Linked DNA regions of Homo sapiens: region 2 is linked to region 1. The links are contacts of gene promoters, found by promoter capture Hi-C in human tissues and cell types (Jung and others, 2019). All regions are on one chromosome and are shown on one strand. Each heading gives the region's core, a stretch centred on a gene start or on the middle of the fragment in contact. The rest is flanking DNA. Distances are from core to core; before and after follow the strand shown. Region 1 holds the start of CLUH (CLUH binding protein of NUMT mRNA). Region 2 overlaps SGSM2 (small G protein signaling modulator 2).

What was found. The method cuts DNA at HindIII sites, captures the fragments that hold promoters and counts their contacts. A contact is called where the count stands out against the background at its distance.
Region 2: a fragment that was not itself captured here is called in contact with the fragment with the promoter of CLUH in region 1 in 2 of the 25 tissues and cell types used here (dorsolateral prefrontal cortex and spleen).

What each region holds. Positions count from the first base shown.
Region 1 is chr17:2,708,487-2,715,864 of GRCh38, reverse strand. It overlaps CLUH (CLUH binding protein of NUMT mRNA), which reads left to right and starts at 4,101. Exons shown (of 26, transcript NM_001366661.1): 1 at 4,101-4,303. The coding sequence starts at 4,204. It overlaps LOC105371592 (a long non-coding RNA gene), which reads right to left and starts at 3,556. Exons shown (of 2, transcript NR_136412.1): 1 at 3,466-3,556; 2 at 3,032-3,383. RefSeq lists enhancers at 2,836-3,731, 3,732-4,628, 5,463-5,542, 6,800-6,999 and silencers at 3,793-3,972, 4,103-4,222. The HindIII fragment of the contact is 23,363 bases long and covers 1-7,378 here.
Region 2 is chr17:2,378,731-2,386,108 of GRCh38, reverse strand. It overlaps SGSM2 (small G protein signaling modulator 2), which reads right to left. Exons shown (of 24, transcript NM_014853.3): 23 at 6,906-7,073; 24 at 5,055-6,677. The coding sequence ends at 6,589. MNT (MAX network transcriptional repressor) reads left to right here. Exons shown (of 6, transcript NM_020310.3): 6 at 1-2,036. Among named protein-coding and RNA genes, the nearest start is that of MNT, 19 kb to the left of the region's middle. RefSeq lists enhancers at 1-126, 3,079-3,288. The HindIII fragment of the contact is 4,866 bases long and covers 1,066-5,931 here.

The DNA.
Region 1 (7,378 bases), core at 2,852-5,351:
CCTGGTGGCGCATGCCTGTAATCCCAGCTACTGGGGAGGCTGAGGCAGGAGAATTGCTTGAACCTGGGAGGCAGAGGTTGTGGTCAGCCAAGATTGAGCCATTGCACTCCAACCTGGGCAACAAGAGCAAAACTCCGTCTCAAAAAATAAATAAATAAATAAATAATGGGGGGCTCAAAGGTGAAACCCCAGGCTGCCAGCAATGCTGCCCCCCCACATCCTGTGGAGCCCTCAGGGCCTGGCACCTTCTACACTGAAATCATTCACTCAGTCAACAAATGTGCATTAAGTGGGGTATGGTCGTGTGCACCTGTAATCCCAGCTACTCAGGGAACTGAGACGGGAGGGTCACTTGAGCCCATAAGTTGGAGGCTTCCGTGAGCCGTGATCATGCCACTGCACTCCAGCCTGGGCAACAGAATGAGACCCTGTCTCTAAAAATAAAATTAAAAATAAATAAATGTGCATTAAACACCTACCATGCATTGGGCTCTGGAAAGATGCTGGGAACACCCAGATAAATAAGTTATGGTTCTTGCCTTCAAGAAGTCCCCAGGTCGGCCAGGCGCGGTGGCTCATGCCTGTAATCCCAGCACTTTGGGAGGCCAAGGCGGGCGGATCACGAGGTCAGAAGTTCGAGGCCAGCCTGACCAACATGGTGAAACCCCATCTCTACTAAAAATACAAAAATGAGCCGGGCATGGTGACGCATGCCTGTAATCCCAACTACTTGGGAGGCTGAGGCAGGGAATCACTTGAATCCGGGAGGTAGAGGTTGCAATGAGCTGAGATCACGTCACTGCACTCCAGCCTGGGCGACAGAGCAAGACTCCATATCAAAAAAAAATAAAAAATAACAAAGTCCCCGGGTCTAGCAGCTGGACTCCTCACCCAAGACCCAGACATCCCAGTATGGCCAAGAGGGTCTCAATTTATGCCTATTGCCCCTGTGTCATTATTAATAGGTTCCACTTGCACTCTCAAAAGTGTTCTGGTTTTAATGATAAACTATGCGATCACCTTAACCATAGCACATTGTTATAGGCAATGGTGGAAATAGCTGGGGAAAATGGGAGTATGTGCTGTTAAGACTATGATGGAGGCCGGGTGCGGTGGCTCACGCCTGTAATCCCAGCACTATGGGAGGCCAAGGTGGGCAGGTCACCTGAGGTCAGGAGTTCAAGACCAGCCTGGCCAACATGGTGAAACCCCCTCTCTACTAAAAATACAAAAATTAGTCGGGCATGGTGGCGGGCGCCTGTAGTCCCAGCTACAAGGGAGGCTGAGGCAGGAGAATCGCTTGAACCCGGGAGGCGGGGTTGCAATGAGCTGAGATCTTGCCACTGTTCTCCAACGTGAGCTACACAGCGAGATGCTGTCCCAAAAAAAGACTATGATGAAAAGACTTTGGTGGAAGCTGTGTGAAAGCAAGAATCAGTCTGCTTAATGTGTGGTCAGAGGTCAGACCACCAGACTATGGAGAATGTGATCAGAGGATGATTTTTTTTTCTTTTCTTTTCTTTCTTTGCTTTCTTTTTTTTTTTGAGACAGGGTCTTGCTCTGTCGCCCAGGCTGGAGTGCAGTGGCGAGATCCTGCAGCCTCAACCTCTTGGGCTCAAGTGATCCTCCTACCTCAGCCTCCTGAGTAGCAGGGACTATAGGCGCACACCACCACACCCAGCTAATTTTTGTATTTTTTGTAGAGATGAGGTTTTGCCATATTGCCCAGGCTGGTGTCCAACTCCTGAGCTCATACAATCTGCTCTCCTCGGCCTCTCAAAGTGTTGGCATTACAGGCGTGAGCCGCCGCACTCGGCTGGATGATGCTTTTTATACGTGTCTGTTTCTCTAACCCCAGGCTTGCTGCTCTTCCCCAACCCCCAGGGTTAAAACTGAGCTTCCTATTATGAGTAGCATTAGCAACATGCACGGGCTTCCAACTTCAGCTGCACTGGGCCACTAGGCACAATTCTCAAAAACCCTGGAGTTTCATGAATACAAACTAAGTACCCATCAGTCAGGTGACCGGCTAAAAGAATTATGGTACAACCAAACAATACAACATTATCCAGCGTAAATGGAATGAGAACACCTACTGAAAGCGTGTAAAAAAAAAATCAGAGTGAAGAATAGCAGGTACAATTTTCTGCACATTTGTGTAACAAAAGAGGAACGAGTGTGTGTATACACATACGTATATACACACGCACACATAAGTATGTATGTGTATATATACACACATATATACACACTTTTATATATATTGATTATAAATATATATATTTTATATATACACTTATATATATACACACTATATATATACACACACTATATATATACACACTATATATACACACTATATATATATACACACACTATATATATATATGCACACTTTTTTTTTCTTTTTTTGAGACGGAGTTTCTCTCTTGTTGCCCAAGCTGGAGTGCAATGGCGCGATCTCGGCTCACCGCAACCTCCACCTCCTGGGTTCAAGCGATTCTTCTGCCTCAGCCACCCGAGTAGCTGGGACTACAGGCGCACACCACCATGCGCAGCTAATTTTTGTATTTTTAGTAGAGACGGGGTTTCACCATCTTGGCCAGGCTGGTCTCTAATTCCTGACCTCGTGATCCGCCCGCCTCTGCCTCCCAAAGTGCTGGAATTACAGGCGTGAGCCACCGCGCCCGGCTTTTTTTTTTTTTTTTTTTTTGAGACGGTGTCTGTGTCACCCAGGCAGGAGTGCAGTGGTGCGATCATAGCTCACTGCAGCTTGGAACTCCTGGGCTCAATCTGAGCCGTCCTGAGTGATACTCCCAGCTCAGCTCCCAAGTAGCTGGGACTACAGGCGCGTGCCACTACACCTGGCTTTTTTTAAACAATATTTTTTGTAGAGACGGGGGTTTTGAAATGTTGCCCAGGTTGGTCTCAAACTTCCGAATCCTGAACTCAAGTCATCCGCCTGGCTTCGGCCTCCCAAAGTGCTAGGATTACAGGCGTGAGCCGCTGCACCGCCCGGCCGAGAAGAATCTTACCAGTTCTCATCTTCCTTCCTCCCGTTTAAATGCTCACATCAAGTCGCTGGCTTTCCTCACCACGTGCTCTCCAGAACAAGGTCGGCTTTCCTTCGCAATTTGTGCGAGGCCCTACCTAAGGCCCTCCCAGCCCACCTCGGGAAGCTGAAGCTTTCCAGTTCTCATTAGAGCTTGACAAACGCTCCGAAGGTTATAGGCCTCGGGTGCTTCCCAAAGGCCCCCTGCGGCCTGGCCAGGAAAGACCCACCGGCGCTCTCTGCCTGGAGCACTTCAACTCACTGCAAGACCTGGTCCCAATGTCCCCTCTGCAGCATTCTCTGACCTCACCGTTCCGTCCCCGCCAAGCCCCTGCCAAGTGAAAAATACGAGTTAAAGCGTCCTGGCTGTGGATGGAGTCAGACCCGGCTCTACCCCTTGCTCTCTGTGTGACCTTGGTCTCGGCCTCCTCCACTGTAAAATGAGGACACCAGCCTGGAGGTGAGGACCCATGGGTCGAGGACGCGGGTAGGGAGCCCGTTCTGGCTCGGGGCAAAGTTTGGCGGGTCCATTCTGACTCTTGATCCCCATTAGCCACGTCTCGCCCTCGCCTCTCGTGCCCGTGCCCTAAGCGACCCTCCACTCCCTCAATAATCCAGCCGCACCCATTCGGCGGGAAAGGGCCTGCCGGGTGGGGAGGGCGCTGAGGGTCACGCGAACACCGCAGATGACAGACTGCGCGGTCATTTAGCAAATCTGCAAGAGAAAACAGGGGATCCTTGGAGAGGGGAGGATTAGCCATGGCAGAACCAGACCAGTCTCCACCCAAGGTCACAGTGCCCGCCCGACGGGCAGCGAGCAGCAGGGAGTCTCCCCGAGGCCCCGCCCCGCGAGGGCGCCCAGCCTCCCTGGGCCTTGAGTCAGAGTGCGTTGCCTTTAAGACGTTCTGGAAAGTCACCGCGTCCGTGGGCGGGGAACCAGGCGCGGCGCGTTTTGTCCCTCGCGGGCCGCCGTGGGCTGGGCCGGGCGCGAGGGTGGGGCAGGGAAACGGCGGCGGGGTCAAAGGCCACGGCGCGCACCACGTGGGCCGGTGACTCCGTCCTTCCCTCAGCAGCCGCGGCGCGCAGGGCACTTGGGTTAGTGGCGCGGCGGGCGGCGCGGACAGCCGAGGCGGACGCCCGCTCCCGCCACCATGGTTATCAAGACGGACGAGTTGCCGGCGGCCGCCCCGGCCGACAGCGCCCGGGAACACGGCTCGCAGGCCGGGGGCAAGGGGCGGCCGGGCGCGGCCGGTGAGCGGGGCCAGGGCCAGCGGGCCGCTGGGCGGGGGGCGCCGGACCAGGGCGGGCGGGTTCGGGACTCCGCGGGGATCGCCGCCTTCCCTCCGCGTCGGGCCCGGTTGTATCTCGCTGGGGCCTTCACCGGGTCGCCCCCGCGCTGAAGGTCACCTTCACAGTCGCCCCCGGCTGCGGCCCGGGTTTCGCACGTGCGGTCCCGTGGAGGGCAGCCTCGGCTGGCACCCTCGGCGGGCACACGCGCGCCTCATCGCGGGGACACGTGCGCGCACACGCGGTTTCGGGGTGCGCCGCCGCCGCAGACCGAAAGAATCGGCGGCCCCACCCCCTCTGCGCCCGAGCATGGGAGCTCTCTGAGCTGGGGTCGCTCCGACGTTTGCGGGACAGCCCCCTTCGGCACCTGCTCCGCGGCGGCCTCCCAGGCATCCCCTGTGCGCAGGGCTGCAGCCCTGGGAGTGAAGCTCCGCTCGAGGCTTCCCAGGCTTGGTTTGTGGGAAGAGCACGAGGTGCGGGGTGTGCGTTGTGAGGGGCGTCCCTGGTTCATGCCCTGAGGCCAGGCTATAACCGCAGGTCTTCAGGCTGTGGCGGAGACTCTCAGGTGTGTTGGCCTGCTCGGCCGACCTGGTGTAGGGGGCGTCTGCCTTTGCATGGGGCAGAGCCAAACTCCTTGGCAGGGGGAAGTGTTTGTGCCAGAACTTGATCATTAACCTGCCTTATTGCGAAAAGTGGGTCAGACCAGAGTTGCTGTTTTTAAGGCAAAGGTCGTTAGTGTGGAGTCAAGCTCCCAGCGATCCCCCATGGGGGCTGTATGGTGGTGACTGTGGCAGTGGCTGCAGCTTGTCTCGGGTGGGGCCTGCTTTCCCTTTCTCCTGAGCCCCTTCTCTTCCTTCTGTTCCCTCCACCGTGTCTCAGACTCCAGCCTTGGGGCTGGAATCCCCTTCCCAGGCCCTCAGTCGTCATCTTCCTCAGGCCCTCTTTGCTCTGGGTGGCAGTGGAGGTGCAGAGCTACTCCTGTCCCCCAGTCCCTCCCTCCTCCGTCGACTGTCCTCAGTTGGGACTTGTGGTCTTAACGCCTCATCATCTCCCTTCCTAGCTTCAGTGAGTGCGCCAGGGCTGACTTGGGAATCAGGATGGGGACAGCGTTCAGCCCTCTGACCCTGTTCCCATCATAGCGGAGTTGCCTTGGGGTGAGGGACAGGTGCTGGGGCAGTACTGCTGATTGTCTAGACAAGGCCAAGGTTTGGGCAGAAGAGCAGATGCTCATCGCCCCAACCTACCAGGCTTTGTGCTGATGTGGCTCTGAATCAGTGGGGGCAGGCTGGATGAGAGGAGGTTGGCTGATTTCCCCTCTAGCAGAGACCCGAAGAGTCGAAGTGACTTGCCCAAGGTCACACAGCGATTTAGCTGTTAAGGGAAGTGTTTGGATTCCAGCTCATGGCCAGCAAGCCAAGGCTGCCGTGGCCTGGCCCAGAGGAAGCTGGGACAGGCGTGTTGGTTTGGATCCCGTGCTGAGAACTAGGGGGCTGACGAGCGTCTGTTGGAGGATTTCTGTGAGGGAGTCAGTGAAGCCCCTTCCTAACTCTGCTGGGGGTGGGGGGGCTCTGTCGGGGGTAAACTGAGTCAGGGAAGGGCACAGCTATTTGTTTTGGGGAAACTGGGAGCATACTCGTGGGCAGGACATGGGCTCCTACGTCCCTGGGAAGGTAGTACAGCTAGCTAGGACTTACGTTACAGCCAGCCCGGATCTATTGAAAGAAGGAAGGAGCCTTAATGAAGACCCCCCAGCTGGGGCCCACCTGAGCATCAGAACCAAGGCTTCTGACCTCTGAGATCCAGCTCTGGAAGGCTCTTCAGCCCCCTTAGGAAGGAGCTGATCTAGGCCATTGAGGGTCGGGGGCAAGGGTTGGTTACCTTCCTGGGAATACAGCGGCTTTTAGGGGTTAAGAGAACAGGCAGGTTTTTCAGGTCCACAGTGGTGCGTCAGGTTCCTTCTGCCCAGGGGAGGGCTCCCTGGAGTTGAGGCCCAGAGGGGGAGGAGGAGGAGGCTGGCAGCTGGGGAAGGAGTCTAGGGGCTTATGGGAGCTCCGCAACAGGATCTTGGATGGGATGTGGGGAGAGCAGCCTGAGGAACTCTGAACTGTCCTCAGGCCCTGAACGCCTGCCTCTGGCCTGGGTGGGACAGGAAGGAGGCAAACAGGTGCCTGGTCTGTAGGTTCTTCCATAGGCCGCCTGCCCGCCCCATTGCCTTTCCCTGAAGCCCTGGGCTCCCGGGACGGGTGATGCACCTTTTCGGACCCTACTTCCTGCTGGAGCCTCACTTGCTGAGGCCTTGGCTGGGGCGTGGCCTGGCCCTGGCACAGTCTTCTGAGTGAGATTGTGCCTGGCTTGGGCAGCACACAGGTCCTCTGGGAGGCCTAAGTTTCTTTTCTAGTTCCTCCTCTCTGCCGCCTTTGAGCTCCCGGCGCCTCCAGGCCGGGGCAAGGGTGTGCTTTGTCTCTTCACTAGCATCTGAGTTTGCGTGTATGCAGAGTGCTGTTGGGGCACGGCTCTCCCGCTCTGCAGAAGACCTCCTTTTCCCCTCCCCTAAAGCTCACATCCTCAGAGGTGCTCCTGGACTATGAGAGGAGGGAGTATTGGCCCAAGGGTGTAGAGGCCTTGGGGAGTGCTGTGACTGGGATAGTTCTGCTCCCCCCCCCCCGAGTAGAGGCTGAGGCCTGGACGAGGAGGCAGGTGCAGCCTACCTGTGGGTGCTGCCGGGCCCCTCGGGAGGGGGTGGGTGGGCTGCGCTGAGTGGGAGTGGGTCAGTGGGAGCGGGTCCATGGGAGCGGGTCGGCGGGAGCAGGTCGGTGGGAGCGGGTGGGTAGCCCGCGCTCAGTGGGAGTGACTCAAAAGCCATGGGCTTGGGCGTCTGACACTCCTGTTTTTTCTTTCCTTTTTTTTTTAAACTTAATCCCAAATGTGATAGTAACACCTGGTTTTTTCTTGCTCTGGGTTGGCTCCTCTTGCCTCTGTGACCTTGGGCAGCTGCTTCCTAGCCTTCTGGAGCCTCAGTTTCCTCAGGTGAGATGGGCT
Region 2 (7,378 bases), core at 2,249-4,748, 330 kb after region 1:
CCCTGCAGCCTGGGTCTGGATGGGAGGAGAGCCACTGGGCCCCTGTCCCCAGTCCCCAGTCCCCAGCCCTGGGCTTGGCTCTTGGCTTCCAGAAGGCAGCAAAGAGGGGCGCTGTCCTGCGTTCAGCCCCTGATCTCTGACCTCTGCTGAGTGCTGGGCACTGCTCCAAGGGACAGGTGGGCCTGGCGGCCTGTGGGTTTGGGTGCCTCCTGCAGTTTGGGAGACATGGACCAGCATCTGGTCTTGTTTCCAGGAGCATAGAAGCCACATCGTTGAGACATCAGGAAGGTAAAAACCCAGCGGCTTAGCCAAGCCCTAAGCCTGTCCCCAGACCAACCCTGGGACCTATACAGAACAGAGGGCCAGAGCTAGGGCTGCTGCTTCTGCTCCAGCCCCTTTGCCTCTGTCCTCCCATCCCCTCAACACCCTGCTTCTCCCGGGGACGCTTTTGAGTGGGCCCTGCCCGGGGAGCTGCAGAGCAGCAGCACCTTTCTCTGAGAAGAGGTCCTTGGTTGGGTCAAGGACAGGGCTGAGCGTGGAAGGGGGAGGAGTCAGGGGCTCTGTGTTAGGATGCGGCTTTCTCTGCCTCTGGGCAGCCTGCTTTGGCCTTTCCTTGTATGTGGGTGTTTATTACAAGTGGCTTTGTGTCAGACACGCTCGGCTCCCCACCTGGACACACACTCACCAGTGGCCTTTCAGTGTAGCGGGAGGAAGCCGGTGTCCCTGGATGTGAAGCTCACACTGATGGGCTGGGGCAGGGGCCTGGGCCGGCGAGGGGGCCGGGGGGAGGGGACAGAGCTGAGGATTTCCTGGAGTGCCCTGCAGGCACAGAGGAGGTCAGCAAAGGTCTTGAATAGATTTTCTCTGGAAATAAAGAATCCTTAGATGCCTAAAAATTCCCTTCCTGTTCCCTCCTGGTCCTGGACACCTCCCAGGGGACTGTTCCTTATTTCTCTCTCCTGGTGTGGGTAAAGGGACAGTTACAAACCAGGTCACCATCCTCAGAGGCTGAGCCCTGTACCCACCCCAGCACAGCCACCTCCGCCAGACCCCGTGGCTCTGGGAGAGCCAGCTTTGCTATTCCCATTGTGACAGCGATGGCAGGCCTGACCCACGGGGCAGTTAGAGCAGCCTCGTGGAGCTCGCCCCTCCCCTCAGCCTGCCCACCTCTCCCTGCATCCTGAGGCCAGTGGCCCCCGGGCCTGCACAGATACCTCATCATCCACCCGCTGCCCCTCCCCGTCCCTGTCCCCCAGCATCGGGGGCCTGCAAATCTAGTGCCGAATGACTATGTCCAGATTGGTGACGATGGGTGTTGCTGTTTTTCTTGTCGTTTGTGAACGCTGTGATGCTGTGTGCCCAAGTGGGCAGTCACCACCCAGCCCTTCCTTGGGCGTCTCCCCCAGAGTGCTGTCGGGACCACATCTGTCCTCACCCTGTGGGACCGCCTGGCCCTCCCTCCCTAGCCCTTCCAGCCTGGGACACACACACACACACACACACACACACACGCACGCACACGCACACATCTTACCTCTCATGCGTGTTTTACCTTTTGATGTTCAGAGTGGCTCACTGGCTGGGAGTCCTTACCTCGGGGAGAGGGGGAGGTTGGTTCCTTGGGGGGCCAAAGAAGGCAGGGAATGCCTGGAGGGTAACTGGGGGGCCACCATGACCCCTTCTCTCTCCAGAAACAGCTGCTTCTCCCCCCATCCCAGGGTCCCACCCCCAACCCCCAGAGGTGGCCCTTGTTTACAGTGAGGACTCGGCCACTGTGTCTCTGTTTCCTGAAATATAAACTGTAGCGACCCCAGACTGTAGAGATTTTTATGTGTTTGGATACATCTGCTGTGTGGAAAAAAAAAAAAACTACAAAAACCCTAATTTTGTACATACTGTATTTTTACTATTGAACTGTATTCTAGTGGCTGTTCATGCTCCAAGACTTTAGTTACCGAGACATGAATACTATCCATGTAATAAGCACTTGCCTGGAATAAAATATAAAACTGAAATAAACCTGCACTGAAACCTGAGATGGAGCTGCCAGCCTGCAGCATCTGGGTCATTTTATTGCAAAAGGAGGCTGAGGCCTGTAGGGAAGCATGTGGCAGGAGCGGTGAGATCACCTGTCTCGACCCTGTCTGCCCAGCATAGTCCTCAAGCGGCTCTGACCCGGTGCCTCCGCCGCTCTGAAAATGGCAGTTCTGGTCGGTCTGAAACTTTTGCAAAGCTTCGTATTTCCTCAGACCATTTTACAAGCATTATCTTGTTTCATCTTTCAACAGCCAAGTGAAGTAAATAAGCCAGACTTAGCCCCATTTTGGCAGATAAGGAAACAGGATTGAGGTGGCCCAGTGACTTGTTGAGGCCACACGGCTAGCTGGAGACTTCGTTGGAGCTGCAGTCAGACCTCTGAACTGGGTACAGAGTTCTTACCCAGCATCTGCCACCCTTGTGGCACCTGGGGCCAGTCCTAGACTCGGATCCAATAAAAAAGGTACAGGGGAGTTGCCCCAGGGATTGGGCACAGAGGGTGAGAGCTTCCTGAGGGGCTGCTCTGGGGGTGCAGTTACAACAGGTCAGCCGGGGAGTCCATAAAGCTGTCCTCTAAGGGAAAGGAACAAGGGGAAGAAGAGGCTGGAGGTCAGGGGCAAAGAGCCGTGTTCTCAGCTGGGCTGGAAGCCCCTTGTCCCTGTGGCTGTGTCTTCTCTCCCTGGGCAGGCTGTCATGGGAGGAGGTGGTGTGGGAAGTGAGGTCAGGGAGCCACTAGCTAGGCCTTGCTGGAGACCAGGCTGGGCAAGGGGGCCCAGCTTCTCATTTCCACCCTGACAGTACCTGACTGACTCCCAGTCCCCACAGGGGAGACTGACTCTGCGTCTCTTCCTGAGGTGGGGTGGGTAGGGGTTATCCTTGAGGAAGGGAGTGCTGTCTTGGGTCCTGTTTTCTGAAAGAGAAGAGTTGACTTCAAAAAGTTCAGGCCGGGCACGGTGGCACACGCCTGTAATCCCAGCACTTCGGGAGGCTTAGGTGGGCAGATCACCTGAGGTCTGGAGTTCGAGACCAGCCTGGCCAACATGGCAAAAACCCTTCTCTACTAAAAATACAAAAATGAGCCGGGCATGGTGGTGCATGCCTATGATCCCAGCTACTCAGGAGGCTGAGGCAGGAGAATCACTTGAACCCGGGGGGTGGAGGCTGCAGTGAGCCGAGATTGCGCCACTGCACTCCAGCCTGGGAGACAGAGCGAGACTCTGTCTCAAAAAAAATTTTTTTAATTAAAATGAAAGTTCGGAATCCAGCCCTCCCTACTGAGCCTGCCCTTTTTACTTGTGAGACGCGGGCTCCCTCTGCTGGTAGCTCCTGGAAGAGCTGGGTCACTTCCATTAGCTCACTAAGCGACGCTTTAGGGAAGGGATAGGGTGAGGGTTAACCCTTCCTGGGTGCATGCTCAGTGCCAGGCCCTGTGCCCACTGGGAACACAGATGAAGACCCTCCCCAGGCAGTGATAACTTGGCTGTCATCTGAGGGCTGTCACTAAATCTTTAGGCAGAAGCTGTACTCAAAGCTCCCCCTCACCCACAGTTCTCACTCACCCATGGCTCAGCTGGAGCTTATAAGAAAGGGGCCTGTGGTCAGGATAAAGTATGAATCCAGGTGCTTCCATTTACCAGCTCCTGCTCTGTAAGAGGAAGACCTGACTTTCCAGATTGCAAAGGTTCCTTGAGATGGTGTTTGGAGAGCCCACTGTGCTGCTTGCTCTTCCCGCCCCAGCTGTCCCATCGTTTTGAAAAGCTGTGGGATCCCCTCTGGTCCCAGGATCCCAGTCCAGTAGTCAGGGGGAGTAGGGCAGGACGGAAGTGTGTGAAGGGTTACTCCCAGGCTAGGTGAAATTTCCTTTAGGTGGTCACAGCAAAGGAATTCTGACTCCTCCAGGCAACAGAGTCGGCTGGCGGGTCGGGGGTGTTCCCCTGAAGGGCTCATCAAGTTCCCTGGCCCCAGAGCTCTCTCTGCACCAACTGGTTTCTTTGGGTAGCTCTGGCCACTAGTTTGCACTCTTTCCTAAAAGCTGGGTTCAGGGCCAGATGCAGTGGCTCAAGCCTGTAATCCCAGCACTTCGGGAGGCCAAGTGGGTGGACTGCTTGAGGCCAGAGTTCAAGACTAGCCTGAGCAACAGTGAGCCTCTGCCTCTACCAAAAAGATAGAAAAACTGCCATGATGGGGGCCTGCATCCCTGGCTACTTGGGAGGCTGAGTTGGGAGGATCGCTTGAGCCTAGGAGTTCAAGGCTGCAGTGAGCCATGATCATACCATTGCACTCCATTCTGGGAGAGATAGCAAGACTCTGTGTCTGTCTATCTGTCTGTCTCTCTCTCTGTATAATAAAGCTGGGTTCAGCCTGCTAGGACCATGGGCTGGGGTCTTCAGCTTTGAGTGAGTGGAAAACAGGCCCTAATGTCCAGGAAGCCAGTGTCCTCTAGGGTAGAAGACATGTTGTGTGACTGGTGTCTTCTCCCTGGAGCCATCGACGATGGGACCAGTAGCACTCGGGTTGGGGAAGGGCAGGAAGAGAGGTGCAGACCCGTTACAGCTGGGCCTGTCTATAGCTCAGCAGGGTCTGACTCCTCCTGACACTCCCCTCCGGCCTCTCAGACAGTGCTCGGGGTGAGAGCCACACCCACAGGGGCAGCTCCGTTGCCATCAGCTGCAGTGGCATAGTCAAGCTCCAGCTTCTCATTGCAGCCTGGTCAGTAGGGCAGGCAGGGGGTAGGGATGGGACAGGGACCTTCTCTCATCCACAGGCTAGAGGGGCCACTGGTCATCGTGAGATGGGGCCATGACTCTGGGGTGAGGTCCCCTCAAGGGCGCTGAGTACTTGAGGTTTGGCTATCAAATCACCCTGACTTCCTGACCAGCCCACACCCTCCAGACTGGCGGCTGGAGTACCTCTCTTGGAAACTTTAGTTTTTTGCCGTCCTCGCCTTTTGGGGCTGGCCGACTGTGGAGCTTAAAGAAGGCACGTGGTCTCTCAGTGTCCAGTCCCAGAGGCTCCAGTGTTGACAAATGTTGTTTATTGGTCTGTTACACAGAAGAGTATAGTTTCTGAGGCAAAAATCATACACACTCTGCTCCTCACAAAACCACGGAGTCACTAAGGCAGGCACACAATGGCCACACGTGCTTGGTGGAGGCCAAGGACTCACGGACAACAAGGATGGACAATGGGGTGGTCTGGCCCCCAGACAGGCTGTGCAGTGCCCGGGGGCAGGGCTGGGCTGGGCAGGCTGTGCTGGGTGCAGAAGGGCTGCGGGGCCCTTTGTCATGTTTCTCAAATGCAGAAAGTCTGCCAGACTTTGGTGGCTGCTGGACTAGGCCCCAGCCCCGGGCAGGGCCTCCATGTTCCAGGGCAAGGCCTAGCCTGCATGTGTTGGGGTAGAGGAGGAAGTGGGGATGGCCGAGCAAGCAGCATGCCTAGGCCTGGGGGCAGGAGCTATGCCCTTCCTGGCACCCCCGCATACACAGCTCCTCCAAGGGGGTTTCTGGGTTCCTAGGCCTCTTGGCATCCTGAGAAGCATGTGGAAGGCAGAGCTAGCCTTGCTTCTCACCAGGGACAGATGGGGACACCCATGCATCCCCTGCCTCCCGCAGTCTCAGGGACATGGCAGATGTCTGCGACAGATAATGGGCTGCCCTCGAACTGAGGCCTGTCTCTGAGGGGAGGCTGTGACCGGATTCTTCCCCGACAGAGTCACCCTGGGATTCCTCAGAGCAAGTGCTCCGGTCGCATTCCAGATCATCCACTGGCAAAAGCATCACTTCTTACACGTGGTTTTCAGGGAAGTACCTAATGCAGAACGCAAGGGTGGGGTGGCAGGAGCGAGGCTGTACAGATACACAGAGGTACACTGTACAAGGCCGGGGAGGCCTGGGGGTCACCTCAGGTGGCCAAAGGCAGTGGCAGTGCTGCTGAAGTGGGCTGCTCCCACCCAGGGCCCACATCTTCCGACTGCCCCAGAATCTCGGGGGAGCGGCCTGAAGGCGGCCCGGGTCTCCCGTGCCCGGGTCTCCCGCACCCGTGACGTGTGCCTAAACCAGAAGCAGTTTTGGTTGCTCCAGCTGGGGCTGGTGCACGCACAATATACTGGGACTGCAAAGGGACCCTCAGAAGGGACACAGCACAGAGCCTCTCGCCCTCTGCCACCCCAGCTGAGTAGGGCCCAGGCCGCTATAGCCCCTGTTAATCCTGTGGGGCCCCAGGTTCACTCGTGGGCAGCAGTCCAGGCTGCGGCTGCAGGTGGCAGTGGGGCTACTCCCAGATGTGTGAGAGGGGAGCAGAGTAGGTGTGTCCCCCAAGGCAGCTGCTCCCTGAGGCTGACCCCTCCCATCCCGGCCCTGATCCGAGGGCATCCTGGCCCCTGACTTGCCCTGCAGGGTCAGCACTGCCGGGAGTCGGATCCAGGCTCACAACCGCTTTGTTAGGAACAGAGGTGGGGTCGGTTGGTGGCTGGGGAGGTCTGGGCGGTGACTCCCCTGCACCTCTCCCTGCCGGAGCCCAGGCTCTGCACGGCTGCTGCCTCCTGGCCCCAGCTCACTTGTTCTCTATGAGCATCTGCACCTTGTGGACGAGGTCCCGGGCAATCCGCAGGATCTCCTGGGCATCGTGATGCTCAGCACGTTCTGGGGGGAAACGTGAAGAGCTGTAGAGAGGCCCAGAGAAAGGGCAGCAGGCTAGGAGGTGGCTGACTACCCTGCTCTGTTTCCATCTGCTCTGCTAGATTCTTGACATCCCGGCCTTTGGGGAAGGGCCCCCAGGATTCCTGAGAACCCTCCAGCTGTGTGCGGGGCAGAGGTGGGGGCCTCCACACCTCTGCTCAGGGCAGCCTGGATGGCTGGACCAGCTCGTACCATTGAAAAACTTGATGATGTCAGTGAAGTCCATGTTGTTGTCACGGATGATCTCTCGGTAGGCCTCCACCAGGGCGAGGGCGATGAACAGGACAAAGTGCTCCGATGAGATGTGCCTGGCTGCCCAGATCACCTCCCACACAGCAAACACATCCTCATACAGCAGTTCTGCGGAGAGTAAGCGGCTGCTGCTCACCCGTCCTAGCCGCATATCTGGGGCTGAGGCTGGGATTGAGGCTGAGGCTGGGATTGAGGCTGGGGCTGAGGCTGAGGCTGAGGCTGGGGCTGGGGCTGATGCTGGCCGGACTGGCTGCTCACAGGCCTCTAAATGGAGCCAGGTGAGGGATCAGAGCTTCAGGGGCCAAAGTCGTGGGATTCTCTCCATGACACAGAGCCTGGCTCAGGAATGGGGGTTCTGTACCCCGTACCAAGGCCCCATCCTTTTCTTGGGTAATTTCTGCACACTGGGTTCC